Linked DNA regions of Homo sapiens: region 2 is linked to region 1. Evidence: promoter capture Hi-C in human tissues and cell types (Jung and others, 2019). All regions are on one chromosome and are shown on one strand. Each heading gives the region's core, a stretch centred on a gene start or on the middle of the fragment in contact. The rest is flanking DNA. Distances are from core to core; before and after follow the strand shown. Region 1 holds the start of ATP2C2 (ATPase secretory pathway Ca2+ transporting 2). Region 2 overlaps ATP2C2 (ATPase secretory pathway Ca2+ transporting 2).

What was found. The method cuts DNA at HindIII sites, captures the fragments that hold promoters and counts their contacts. A contact is called where the count stands out against the background at its distance.
Region 2: a fragment that was not itself captured here is called in contact with the fragment with the promoter of ATP2C2 in region 1 in 3 of the 25 tissues and cell types used here (bladder, mesendoderm cells and neural progenitor cells).

What each region holds. Positions count from the first base shown.
Region 1 is chr16:84,365,970-84,371,822 of GRCh38, forward strand. ATP2C2 (ATPase secretory pathway Ca2+ transporting 2) reads left to right here and starts at 2,569. Exons shown (of 27, transcript NM_014861.4): 1 at 2,569-2,745. The coding sequence starts at 2,647. The HindIII fragment of the contact is 8,598 bases long and covers 1-4,921 here.
Region 2 is chr16:84,424,916-84,430,768 of GRCh38, forward strand. It overlaps ATP2C2 (ATPase secretory pathway Ca2+ transporting 2), which reads left to right. Exons shown (of 27, transcript NM_014861.4): 11 at 820-886. Among named protein-coding and RNA genes, the nearest start is that of ATP2C2-AS1, 40 kb to the right of the region's middle. The HindIII fragment of the contact is 5,768 bases long and covers 1,110-5,853 here.

The DNA.
Region 1 (5,853 bases), core at 1,319-3,818:
ACAGAGTGAGACCTTGTCTCTAAAATGTACATGCATATATCCACCACCTAGAGTTTCCTTCTGGAATGCCCTGGGCATTTTCGAACCTAGCCCAGGAATTCCAGCCTTGACATCTCTGGGCTGGAGCGGAAGCCATGGTGATAGGATCCGAAAGGCTGGGCTTTCAAATCCTCTGCTCCGGGGATGCTGATCTGCCTGGAGAGATGACATCTGGTTAACAGCTTGGAAAAACATGAAGATGCCAACAAGGCGTTCTTCTTCCCTGGATCCAACATCATTTTAAAATCACAGAATGCCACTTGGGAAGGACCTGAGAAATAACTGAGCCAAGTTCCCATATGTTCTTTTATATTAATAATATAGAAGCGCCTGAGAGCCTGCAATGTCGGGTACCACGACATCGTACTACTACATCATACCTGTGCAAGCATTCACTCAGCCTGAACCACAGGATGCTGAGGTTGGCTGCGGGATGTCTCCTCCTTGTTCCTCTACAACACTCTTTTTTTTTTGTTTGTTTGACATGAAGTCTTGCTCTACTGCCCAGGCTGGAGTGCAGTGGCACAATCTTGGCTCCCTGCAACCTCCACCTTCCGGGTTCAAGCGATTCTCCTGCCTCAGCCTCCGAAGTAGCTGGGATTACAGGCGCATGCCAGCACACCTGGCTAATTTTTCTATTTTTACTAGTGACAGGGTTTCCCCATGTTGGCCAGGCTGGACTCGAACTCCTGACCTCAGGTGATCCGCCCACCTTGGCCTCTCAAAGTGCTGGGATTAGAGGTGTGAGCCACCTTGCCCAGCCTCCTCTACACCACTCTCCACCCTTCTTTGGATTCTCTGCCCAGGAGGCTGCATCCTTGGCGCTCTGTTGCTTTCTGGCTTTTGATCTAAGCAGTTGCCCTCTGCAGAAGTTATCAGTGCCCCAGAGCTCCCCCTCCAGGTAACTCCTCTCTCGTCTGGCCCTTCAGGCCTTGGGTGGGACCAAAGCCACTTCTCACTCTTTGCTAGTCTTCGTTAATGACACAAGCACTTCTGGTTTCTCTACGTCTTCCCCACAGCTTTGTAAAAAGTCTGTTTCTCAAACTCTCCTCAAATTACTATTTCCTACTGGGACCCTGACTCCTACGGGTAGGTAGTGACATCCCCATTTTATGGATGAGTAAACTGAGGTGGAGAGAGGTGAAGAAAATTGCCCAAGGTCGGAAAGGAACATTCCTGGGATTCAAATCTGGACTCACTCACATCAGAGGTTTGCTGTTACCATTATTCCTGCACCTTTGTTGAAACTGGGGAGTGGGGCCAGGCTGATACCGTAGCCTTTGTTTCCTTGAAAGAGGAAGATGCAGGAGATACAAGAAGGGGCACTGGAACTGCCCTGCAGGTTTTCGTGGCCTGGAGTCAACCCTCGGGAGCAATTGAGGTAGGTGGCAAATATTTGCTCAAAAGGGGTGGCTGAATTTCGTGGACAAATGCAGAGGGCACCTCCTGTAGCCCGTGAGTAACTTCCCTGTAGAGATGAGGAAGCCAGCGGAAAGGCGGGTGGCACGGACTTCCCCAGAGCTCCCCCTCTGCTAAGTGGTGGGTCTAGTTACGGATCTAGTCCTACCTGAAGCCAAAGAAAGCCCTGGAACTTCAAAGCACCCACTTGGCTGCTGGCAACTGTCTACACTGCGTATGGACTCACATACTTTGGGAGCCATTTGAGCCCAGCACCTTCTGATGATGAAGAGGAGGAGGATGGTGTCATGGGGACACCAGCACATTCTCTACTCCAAGCCCTGCTCGAGACCTTCCTGTACAGCACTGTCCGCTGGGGCCTCTCCATGTCACTGTGAAGGAGGCGCTATCGTGGTGGCCATTCTGCAGAGCAGTAAACCAAGGCGCTAAAAATATAAGAAACCTGCTCAGGTCCCACGACGAGCAAGAGCGGCGCTCATCCTGCAGACGAGGACAGGGGCCCTGACCATCCGAGACCATGCAGGCGCCAAAGGCAGCAGGGCTCTCAGTCGCTCCTGTTCCTGGACTCACTCCCAGGGCCCTGGAGGTGGGGGTCTTAGCCTTCTGCTGCTCCCCGCTCAATGACAGGCTAGGTTGCCGAGGCTCAGAAAGGCCACGTGACCCGTCCAGAGTGCACAGCCGCAGGTGTGAGTCTGACTGAGCTCCAGCCACCTCGCTCCCGGCGCCTTAGAGCCGCCCACCCTGGGTTCCTCAAGAGGATCACCTGGGGCTCGTTAAAAACCCAGCTCCCGGCGGCTCCAAACCGTGACTGGGCAGGGAGGGGTCTGGGAATCCGGATTTTAAACCAGCATTTGCTCCTCCACCTCCCCCACTCCAGGTGATTCTTAGGATCTGTAAGTTTGGGAAACAGCCCAAGCCCTGAGGCGACGCAGCCTCTCCCTGGGCCTTTCATGGCCAGCCGGCGCTGTCCCCAGAGCCCCTGGGGTCCCAGGCGAGCTCGCGGGGCGGGGCCGGGTGAGCCGGCACCTCCCTGTGCGCAGCCCCGCCCCAGGGGCGGGGCCTCACCTGCCGCGGGCAGGTAGACAGCTACCTGGTAACCGGGTCCGGCCCAGGAGGCTTGGGCGCGCGCAGCCATCCCGGGCCTCGCCGGGGACCTAGGGACGCAGGCAACGCCTGCGCCCGCTCACCATGGTCGAGGGACGCGTCTCCGAGTTCCTGAAGAAACTCGGCTTCTCGGGCGGGGGCCGCCAGTACCAGGCGCTGGAGAAGGACGAAGAGGAAGCCTTGGTGAGTCCCCGCGACTCCGCGCCGGGCGTGCGACCCGACCCCCCATCCCCTCCGTCGTAACCGTCCCCGGCCCGAGACCCCGCGTTCGCGCTGCGATCCGCGAACTCGCCCTCCTCCCCTGGCTCTGGAAAGAAGCTGTCCTCACAGCAACCGCGCTCTCATCTGCGCTCTGGCGCGGGGAGCTCAGCATGGAACCCTCACGTGAACCCATTTTGTGGTTGAGAAACTGAGGCCGAGAGTGGTTAAGTATATTCCCTAAGGGGCACGGAGCTAGGAAGTGACCTGGCTGGGAACTTAACCTAGGTTTCTCTGACTCCAGAGAATTAAAATTCCTGGGTCTCCAGACTTGGGCTGCTTTATGGATTTTTAAAACTTAAATTGGAAAATAAAATTAGAGGGATGCAAAAAACAAAAGATTGCTGAAATGTTGTAGCAATAATAGAAAGCAAAGTTGGAGCTGAGGGACCTCCCAGCCTCACTTCCTACAGTCAGGTACTTTTAGAAAGTCACTCAGAGCTGTATGCCTGCTTTGCAACCTTCAGGGACCCTCTGGGATAAAGCAGCAGGGTGCCAGGGCAGGGCGGTTCATGAGGGAACGAAGTGGCAAAGCTGTCAAATAAAGCCCCTCCTGTTCCTTGGATTCTTGGAAGCCAGGGGTGAAGCCAGGCTTGAGGGTGACCCAACACCCTTCTTTTTAGCTTCGCAAACAGAACTCGTTGCATGCTTTAAGGTCAGGGGGGCACTGAATTTCTGCAGAAGCGTTTCTCTGCACGCCAGAGGGTCGTTGCACTTTTTTTTTTTTCATTTACGCTTAAGCAGTCGTTCAAAAGTAACATTTCTGAACGAGTCCCCTGGGTTGCTAATTAGAAATATGACTTGGCGATGGCCTTTTGACCAGTGAAAGGAAACTTCAAAGGTAAACTTACCTTTTAATTAAAAAAAGAAATTAGCTGAAAAAATATTTGACTTAAAATTTTATTTTTTTCTCCCAAAGAATACTAATGGTCAAAACATTTTGTTTGTGAGATTAAGTATTCGTGCTTTTTTAAAAATAGTGTTTTGTGCTTTTTTAAAAATAGTGTTTTATACATCCCTGTTGATGTAAGAATTCTGGTCTTAGGGTGGTAGGCCACAGGACCACGTAACTAGCAGTTTTTGAGCAATCTCGATTTTTCTGAAGTGGCATGTTAATATTGATAGGATATAGAGTTCAATTAATTGGCTGTGATCCATTTCTCTGCTTCTGCGATACATTCTGCTAAAGGAGTTTGAAGTTTATTTGCCATCACAGGTTGCCTTTCCTATGTTGCCATTCCTGTTTTTTCCTTTCCATCTTTTGATTCTTGCATCAGGCCAGGTATTTTTCAAACTCTCCTGGTGTGTAGTTGGTTACCATCAGGTTTCACAGGATGTCCAGGAATGCAGGTGCATGGATGATGTAACCTCAAGGGAGATGCTGGGAGAGTTTGATCTCTGTGCCAGGTGGACTCGTCCCTCCAAAGCTTTGCAGGAGAGTTCTCAGAGGTCTGACAGGTGTTCAGCCGGTCTGTCAGTGTGCTCTCCCACCTGGCTGTGGACCGGGGTGCTCTCAGCAGCATCCTGAGGCCCTGGGTGCGTGATGATGGGCAGTGTGCAGCGCCAGGAGGCGGGTGATACCAGCACTGACACCAAAGGCCAGCTGAGAAAGAAGCCATGCTGTCTCCAGAGGCAGCCTTGTGCAAACCCAGGAAATGTGCAAACCCAGGAAATGGCAATGAAGATCGATGGGAAGTGTGAGGAGGGAGGGAGGTGGGGAGGCCGGGTGGCTGGGCGAGGCACTCACTTCCTGCCAGGTTGGCTCAGACCTGAACACCTCCTTTGCTGTCATACTCATGTCCTCTCGTTGGAACTCCTTTCTCCCAGGGTTTGGAAAGGAGGCGATGTGTGTTGAGGTGATCACTTCTACAATAGTTGGAATTGTCTTTTTTTTTTTTTGCGTTATTTCATACTAGTTTATTTAGGGGTTCCATTTTCACTCCTCAATAGAACCGTCTTTTATGAGCACTAATTACATGCCACATCCAGGATGCCTGTAGGAGGCCTCTAAGCCCTCCCCTCCCCCAGCCACTTTGACCAGTTACCCCAGTTCTAATAGTGATTGTTACTGAGAACTTGCTGTGTCTTCTCTTGGGCCTCTTACCTCCAAGGTAAATTTTACTCTCGTCATGTGATCAATGAGGATGTGAGGCTCCTAGTGGGGCCACGTTTGTTTGCTCAGTGAGCATTTCCTGACAGCCAGTTTTGCTAGGCGCTGAGGATACAGATGTGTACAAAACAAAGTTCATAAAGGAGGCCAATGGTCAGCTGAGAAACTGGGAGATGCTTTATTTGAGACCCAGTGGTCTCAGGTGCACTGGAGAATCAAAGAGTAGAGGACCAGACAGAGGACTGGTGGTTGAGAGGGGAACTGGAGACGACCCCATGTTAGAAGCACTGGAGACTGGATTTCAGCATTTCCAGGAATGGAAAGAAAGGTGTTTGAGCCGGGCGCAGTGGCTCATGCCTGTCATCCCCACACTTTGGAAGACTGAGGCAGGAGGGTCACTTGAACCCCAGAGTTCAAGATCAGCCTGGGCAACATAGCCAGATGCCATCTCTGCAAAAAATTAGGCGTGGTGGTGTGCACCTGTGGTCCTAGCTACTCACCAAGCTGAAGCAGGAGGATTGCTTGCACCTGGGAGGTCAAGGCTGCAGTGAGTTGTGATCATGCCACTGTGCTCCAGCCTGGGCAACAGAGTGAGACCCTGTCTCAAAACAAAACAACAACAAAAAGGTCTTTGAGAGGCCTCCTTAATTTAGTTACTAGAAAAAGCTTCTCACTGCTGACCTGAACATTAGGGTAAGGAAGAGATTGGAGCAGAAATTCCTGCTTCCCAGGTGACTCAGCGCCAACTCCGGGGGAAGCTGTCTCTGCCCCTCAGGGCTCCCATCTCTTAAGTGAGGCAGGTATAGCCCCAGCCCACTGCCTTCCTGGCTGGTGAGCAGATGCATCCTTCTGGGCTCTCCAGGGTGAGGCTTGGATCCCAACAGACGAATGTAGTGACCACCCATCCATTCAACCTAGATTCA
Region 2 (5,853 bases), core at 2,744-5,243, 60 kb after region 1:
AGGCTCACTGCCTCACCCCTATTTCCAATAGAGCTCCCCTTGCTAATCTATTTCATTTGAGTTCATTTGGGTTCTAGCTAAGATTTCAGCTGATGACTGAGTTTAGTAGCCAATAGTAGAATGCCCAAAACAAAACTAACAGATACTGTGGCAGCTGCCCCCCTCAATACATACACACACACACCCCGCTACCATCCATCAGAAAACATCCCTGGCCCCCTGGCCCCTGCAAAGCAAAGCTAACGTTCTTTAGCAAGCTCTCCAAGGGTGTCACCTGGCAACACCACCCACCTTCCCAGTCCCTACTCACACCTCCGTGTCTCGTACACCTAGTGCAGTAACTGGTGTGCAGTACGTATTTGGTAAATTATTAATGAAGGAAAATGGAAATGGAGTATATTTAATCATGAGTACCACAGAGTAAAATAATTTGAAAAAACAGTGACCTATCTGCCCATCACAGGAGCAGTTGCATTTGCCACAACAAACACCACATGGGGGGATGTTCTGGATACACGCAGCCGACGGTAAACTTTGGGAATAAGATGTAAATGCTTGCGAACAGTCCAAAATAGACTGATTGAGCCTTTTACTTAAATTTGGCTTGGACCTTTCCTAAGAAAGTAAAATCGGGTTTTTGTAGGTATAAACGTATCTCCCTTAGAAAAGAGAAGAGACGGGTTGAAAGTGGTTGAGGTTATCAGGCGTTCCTCTGTGCATGCATTCCTGTAAACTCTTTAAGGAAGTGAGTTTGAATCCCTCCAGGCATCAGCGTGTGTAGTGCATATGGAGATAAGGATGTTTTTGTCTCTTCCCCAGGTCTCATCATGCTCATTGGCTGGTCGCAAGGGAAACAACTCCTGAGTATGTTCACGATCGGGGTCAGGTAAGAGTGCTATGGCCGCCCCTTGCCTTGCCAGGGTGGTCAATGGGCTCTGAGCCCTTCCCTGCCGCAAGAGAAGGTGGGGAGGCTGCAGAATAGGAAGGGTTGGGAAGGTGCAGCCCCGTCACCCAAACTCCAGCCTCCCAATAGCATGTTCTCCGACAGGTACAGAGTGCCCGGCGAATGCTTGCAAAATGAATGACAGCAAATGATCCAGGGTGTCCCTTTTGTATTAGGCTGTTCTTGCATTGCTAAAAAAAAAAAAAATACCTGAGGCTTGGTAATTTATTAAGAAAATAGTTTAATTGGCCTATGGTTCTACAGGCCGTACAGGAAGCATGGTGTCTGCTCAGCTTCTGGGGAGGCTCCAGGAAGTTTCCAATCAAGGCGGAAGGGGAAGGGGGAGCAGGCATGTCACATGGCAAGAGCAGGGGCAGGAGAGGGAGGAAGGGGAGATGCCACATGCTTTGAAACAATTAGATCTCTCAGGAACTCACTCCAGCAAGAACGGCTCGAAGGAGATGGCGCTAATCCATTCATGAGGGATCCACCCCATCGTCCAATCTCCTCCCACCTCCAACACTGGGGCTTATGTTTCAACTTGAGGTTTGAGTTGGGACACACATTCAAACTGTATCAGCTTTCTTGTCACTCTTTGCCTGTGGGTTTGGGTCTTTCTGGCTAAGAGCAAGGACCCCAGAGCCAGCCTGCCTCTGTTTAAATTCTACGCTTGCCACAAAACTGGAGGTTCTGTGACCTCCAGCAAGTTTCTTAGCTCTCTGTGCCCCAGTTTCCTCCTCTGAAAAATGGGAATGCTCATATACCCTCTCCTAGGGCGACTGTCTGGATTAAAGGAGTTAGTCTGTGCAAGCACCCACATGATACACAGTGCAGAGTGAGTGTTGGCTCTTAATACTGGTTTACAACTCTATCCAAGCCCTTGTCTTACAGAGGAGGCTATCAGAGCGGCAATGGATGTAGAGCCCAAGGCCACACGCGGACAGCAGGGCTGGGAGTCATCATCACTTGATGATGCTAAGCCGAGGGGACCCGCCCTTCTTCTACGTAGTGATTCATAAGTCATCCCAAGCCCCTGGGTCCTGGTGGCCGAGACAGGGAGAGGCACGGGCAGCCCAGCATCGTGCAGCGGTTTGACTTTGTCAGTAGTTCTTCTGTGGCTATTTGCCAAGAGCAAGGGAAGCAGAGGCCGGGGATTGTCACTAACTGGGTATGTCCCATTGGAAGGGAGCCTAGGGGCTGTGCCAGGACACGGAGGAACCAACCCATGTCTAGGCTCATGTCAGGCCCATTGGTTCCCAGACAGTAACGCACACGCAGCTGCTGTCTGCAACGTGTTTTTAGGTGATGTGTGGAAAATCATTCTAGTGTCTGTTCATATGTATATATATGTAATTAATACATCAAACCCATGATGTAAACAAACTTAGATGTCCATCAGCTCATTAAAGAATAAACAACTTAGGTACAGTGGAATATTTTTCAGCCACAGAAAGGAATGAAGTACTGATTCATACTGCAACATGGATTAATGTTGAAGCCATTTTCCTAGGTGAAAGAAGCCAGTTGCACATGTTATATGATTTTATTTATATAAAATATTCAAAAATAGGTCACTCGGCCAGGCGCGGTGGCTCATACCTGTAATCCTAGCGCTTTGGGAGGCCAAGGCAGACGATCACCTAAGGTCAGGAGTTCTAGACCAGTCTGGCCAACATGGTGAAACCCTGTCTCTACTAAAAATACAAAAATTAACTGGGTGTGGTGGCAGGCACCTAAAATCCCAGCTACTCGGGAGGCTGAGGCAGAAGAATCGCTTGAGCCCGGGAGGTGGAGTTTGCAGTGAGCCGAGATTGCGCCACTGCCCTCCAGCCTGGGTGACAGAGCAAGAGACTGTCTGAAAAAAGAAACAAACCAAAACATAGGTCACTTCATAGAAACAGAAAGTAGGTTAGTGTTTGCCAGGGCCTGGGGTTGGGGAGTGTGTAGTGACTCCTAACAGTTATGGGGTTTCCTTCGGGGGTGAAGAAAATGTTCCAAAATTGATTGTGCGGATAGGTGCACGACTCTGCATACACTAACCACCATTCAATTATATATGTTAAAGGAGTGAATTTTATTATATACAAATTATATATCAATAGAGAAACCAGAAAGGTATAGAACAGGCAACTAAGAATGCTGTTATTGAGAGGGTCCTCGGAGCCTTTCTAATTTATATATGAAGAGTAAACCATTATTGCAAATGTGTGCTGTAATGATCATTACAGTGAATTACAGCAGACAAACTCCTGGTGGATTGAGGCATCCCAGTGTGTGCTGGGACACAGAGGTTTGTCCTGCTGGCCAGTGTGGGCAAGAGAATCTTGCTTTAAGGGTTGAGTGTACTGGGTCTGGTACATGGTATCAGGTACCTAGTATCAGGTGTACATGGCTCTGGTGCATAGTCAGGCTTGCCTGTGTATACATGAATGTACACGATTATCTGGTAATTAGTAGTAGAAGAGATTCCAAATGCCTTATTTTTTCAACGACACTGCATGGTGTGCATTAATTGAGGGGCAGGTGGTAAAATCAACATGTGGGCAGCTGTGTGTCCTATGACAAAAGCATTCAATAACTGTTTTTTGAGTTAATGGGAATTGGAAATACTGTGTCTGGCTTTGGATACTTTGTCACTCAGTGTATTTAACAAACAAAATCTTAGTAACACCAAATGCTGAGAGCACACAAAAAAAACATGGAAAAGAGGAGCTGGAATATTATGTGATGATGTGGGCACACAGATGTGATAAAAATCCTAAAAGCAAAATACAAATGACAGACACTTGGAAAACCCCATCCCAGATAAATTCTAAGTCATAATAAGTTCATCTCTTCCCTTAAAGAAAAAAAAATCCTGTAATGAGACACACAAGACATTCAAACCACATCAGAATACCCTTAAATGATAGTTTTCAATAGGAAAAGAAGAACAAGAAAAAAAGCTGTACTCATAGATAATAGTCTTTAGGTTTTAGCTTTAAACAACCTATAAATGAGCGGAGATGTATGCCAGGGGTTGGACTTTCCCCCTAGACCTGTTTGGAACCATGAAAATGATGCAGTGGTGCTGTACAGGTGTCTTTGCTGGGTTGCAGCCCTTTTTCCCTGAATATATGCCCAGGTTCTCGGTTTGTTTTACTAATGGCCCTGCGAAAGGGCATCTTAGGCTCTGGATAATGAAACCCAAGGGGGTCTATTGAATGTAGGATGGTCTTGATCTCTAGTGAATTGGGGCTTTCTGGCTTAATATCCTGAACAGAACGATCTTCATGGCGTTGTTTTTTTTGTTTGTTTGTTTGTTTGTTTTCAGACAGAGTTTCACTCTTGTCGCCCAGGCTGGAGTGCAATGGCACGATCTTGGCTCACTGCAATCTCCATCTCCCAGGTTCATGCAATTCTCCTGCCTCAGCCTCCCAAGTAGCTGGGATTATAGGGGCGCACCACCACACCCAGCTAATTTTTTAAATTTTAAGTAGAGATGGGATTTCACCATGTTGGCTAGGCTGGTCTTGAACTCCTGACCTCAGGTGATCCACCTGCCTCAGCCTCCCAAAGTGCTGGGATTACAGGTGTGAGCCAGTGCTTCCAGCCTTCGTGGAGCTTTTGAGGAGCATTTATCCTTCGGTGTTACTGTGTATAGCACGTGACTGCGTGATCTGTTCGTATCACTTTCATTGAATCCCTTTCATGTTCATGTAGTGTTGGGATTGGGGGAGGTTGTGAACAAGACAGTCATGGTTCCCACCTTCAAAGATTGTAGGTCTCAGTGGGGATGGAGAATCGATGGGAATCAAGGGCTAGAGGAAGAGAGCTGGGAAGAGAGGCAGAGGCAGGTGGGAGAGGGAGCGTGAAGCTGAGATCTGGAGGAGCTGTGGCTGATGTGATGAGGCCTTGGAGGAGACTGGGTGTGCATATTCCTGTGGCTGTCAAAACAAAGCACCACAGGCTGCAGGGCTGGAAACAGAAGCTTATTCTCACCATTCTAGAGGCCAGAAGTCCGAGGTCCAGGTGTGGCAGGAGCATGCTGTTCTTGAAGACCCTAGGGGGAGAATCAGCCAAATGCTTCTCAGCTTCTGGTGTCACAGGCAGTCCTGAGCACATAGATATCTTGCCTCTAGTCTCTGTCTGTCACATGGTCTCCTCCTCTGTCTCTGCGTCTCTTCTCTTCTTTTTATAAGGACGCCAGTTGTATTGGACTAGGGTGGATACTCTAATGACCCCATTTTTATTTGATGATGTCTGCAAAGGCCCTGTTTGCACATAAGGTCACATTCACGTGTACCAGGAGTTAGGATGTGAACATATTTTATTGGAGGGACACAATTCAACCCCTTAGCAGCAGGCACTGGGCTGCCGGGAGAAGGGGGTGGATGGACAACAAGCTCGTTGAAGGAGATGAGGACAAGGAGGCCTGAGCCAGGGCTGGGAAGACCCGTCTACGCGAACGGCAAAGTTGCCAAGAGCAGCCTGCAGGTGGACAGAGTAAAGTCAGTTCTGGGCCGGGTGCGGTGGCTCACGTCTGTAATCCCAGCACTTTTGGACACTGAGGCAGACGGATCACTTGAGGTTAGGAGTTTAAGACCAGGTTGGCCAACATGGTGAAACCCCATCTGTACTAAAAATACAAAAATCAGCTAGGCGTGGTGGCACGTGCCTATAATCCCAGCTACTGGGGGGCAGAGGCAAGAGAATTGCTTGAACCCGGGAGGCAGAGGTTGTAGTGAGCTGAGATCACACTACTGCCCTCCAGCCTGGGCAGCAGAGTGAGACACCATCTCAAAAAAAAAAAAAAAAAAGTCAGTTCTAGAATCTTCAAGGAATTGAAGAGGGAGGGACCAGGGTCTTTTGGTGCTGGAGAAGGAGCAGGAGTAGAACATGTGATCCCAGTTCACCCTTACACAGCCCAT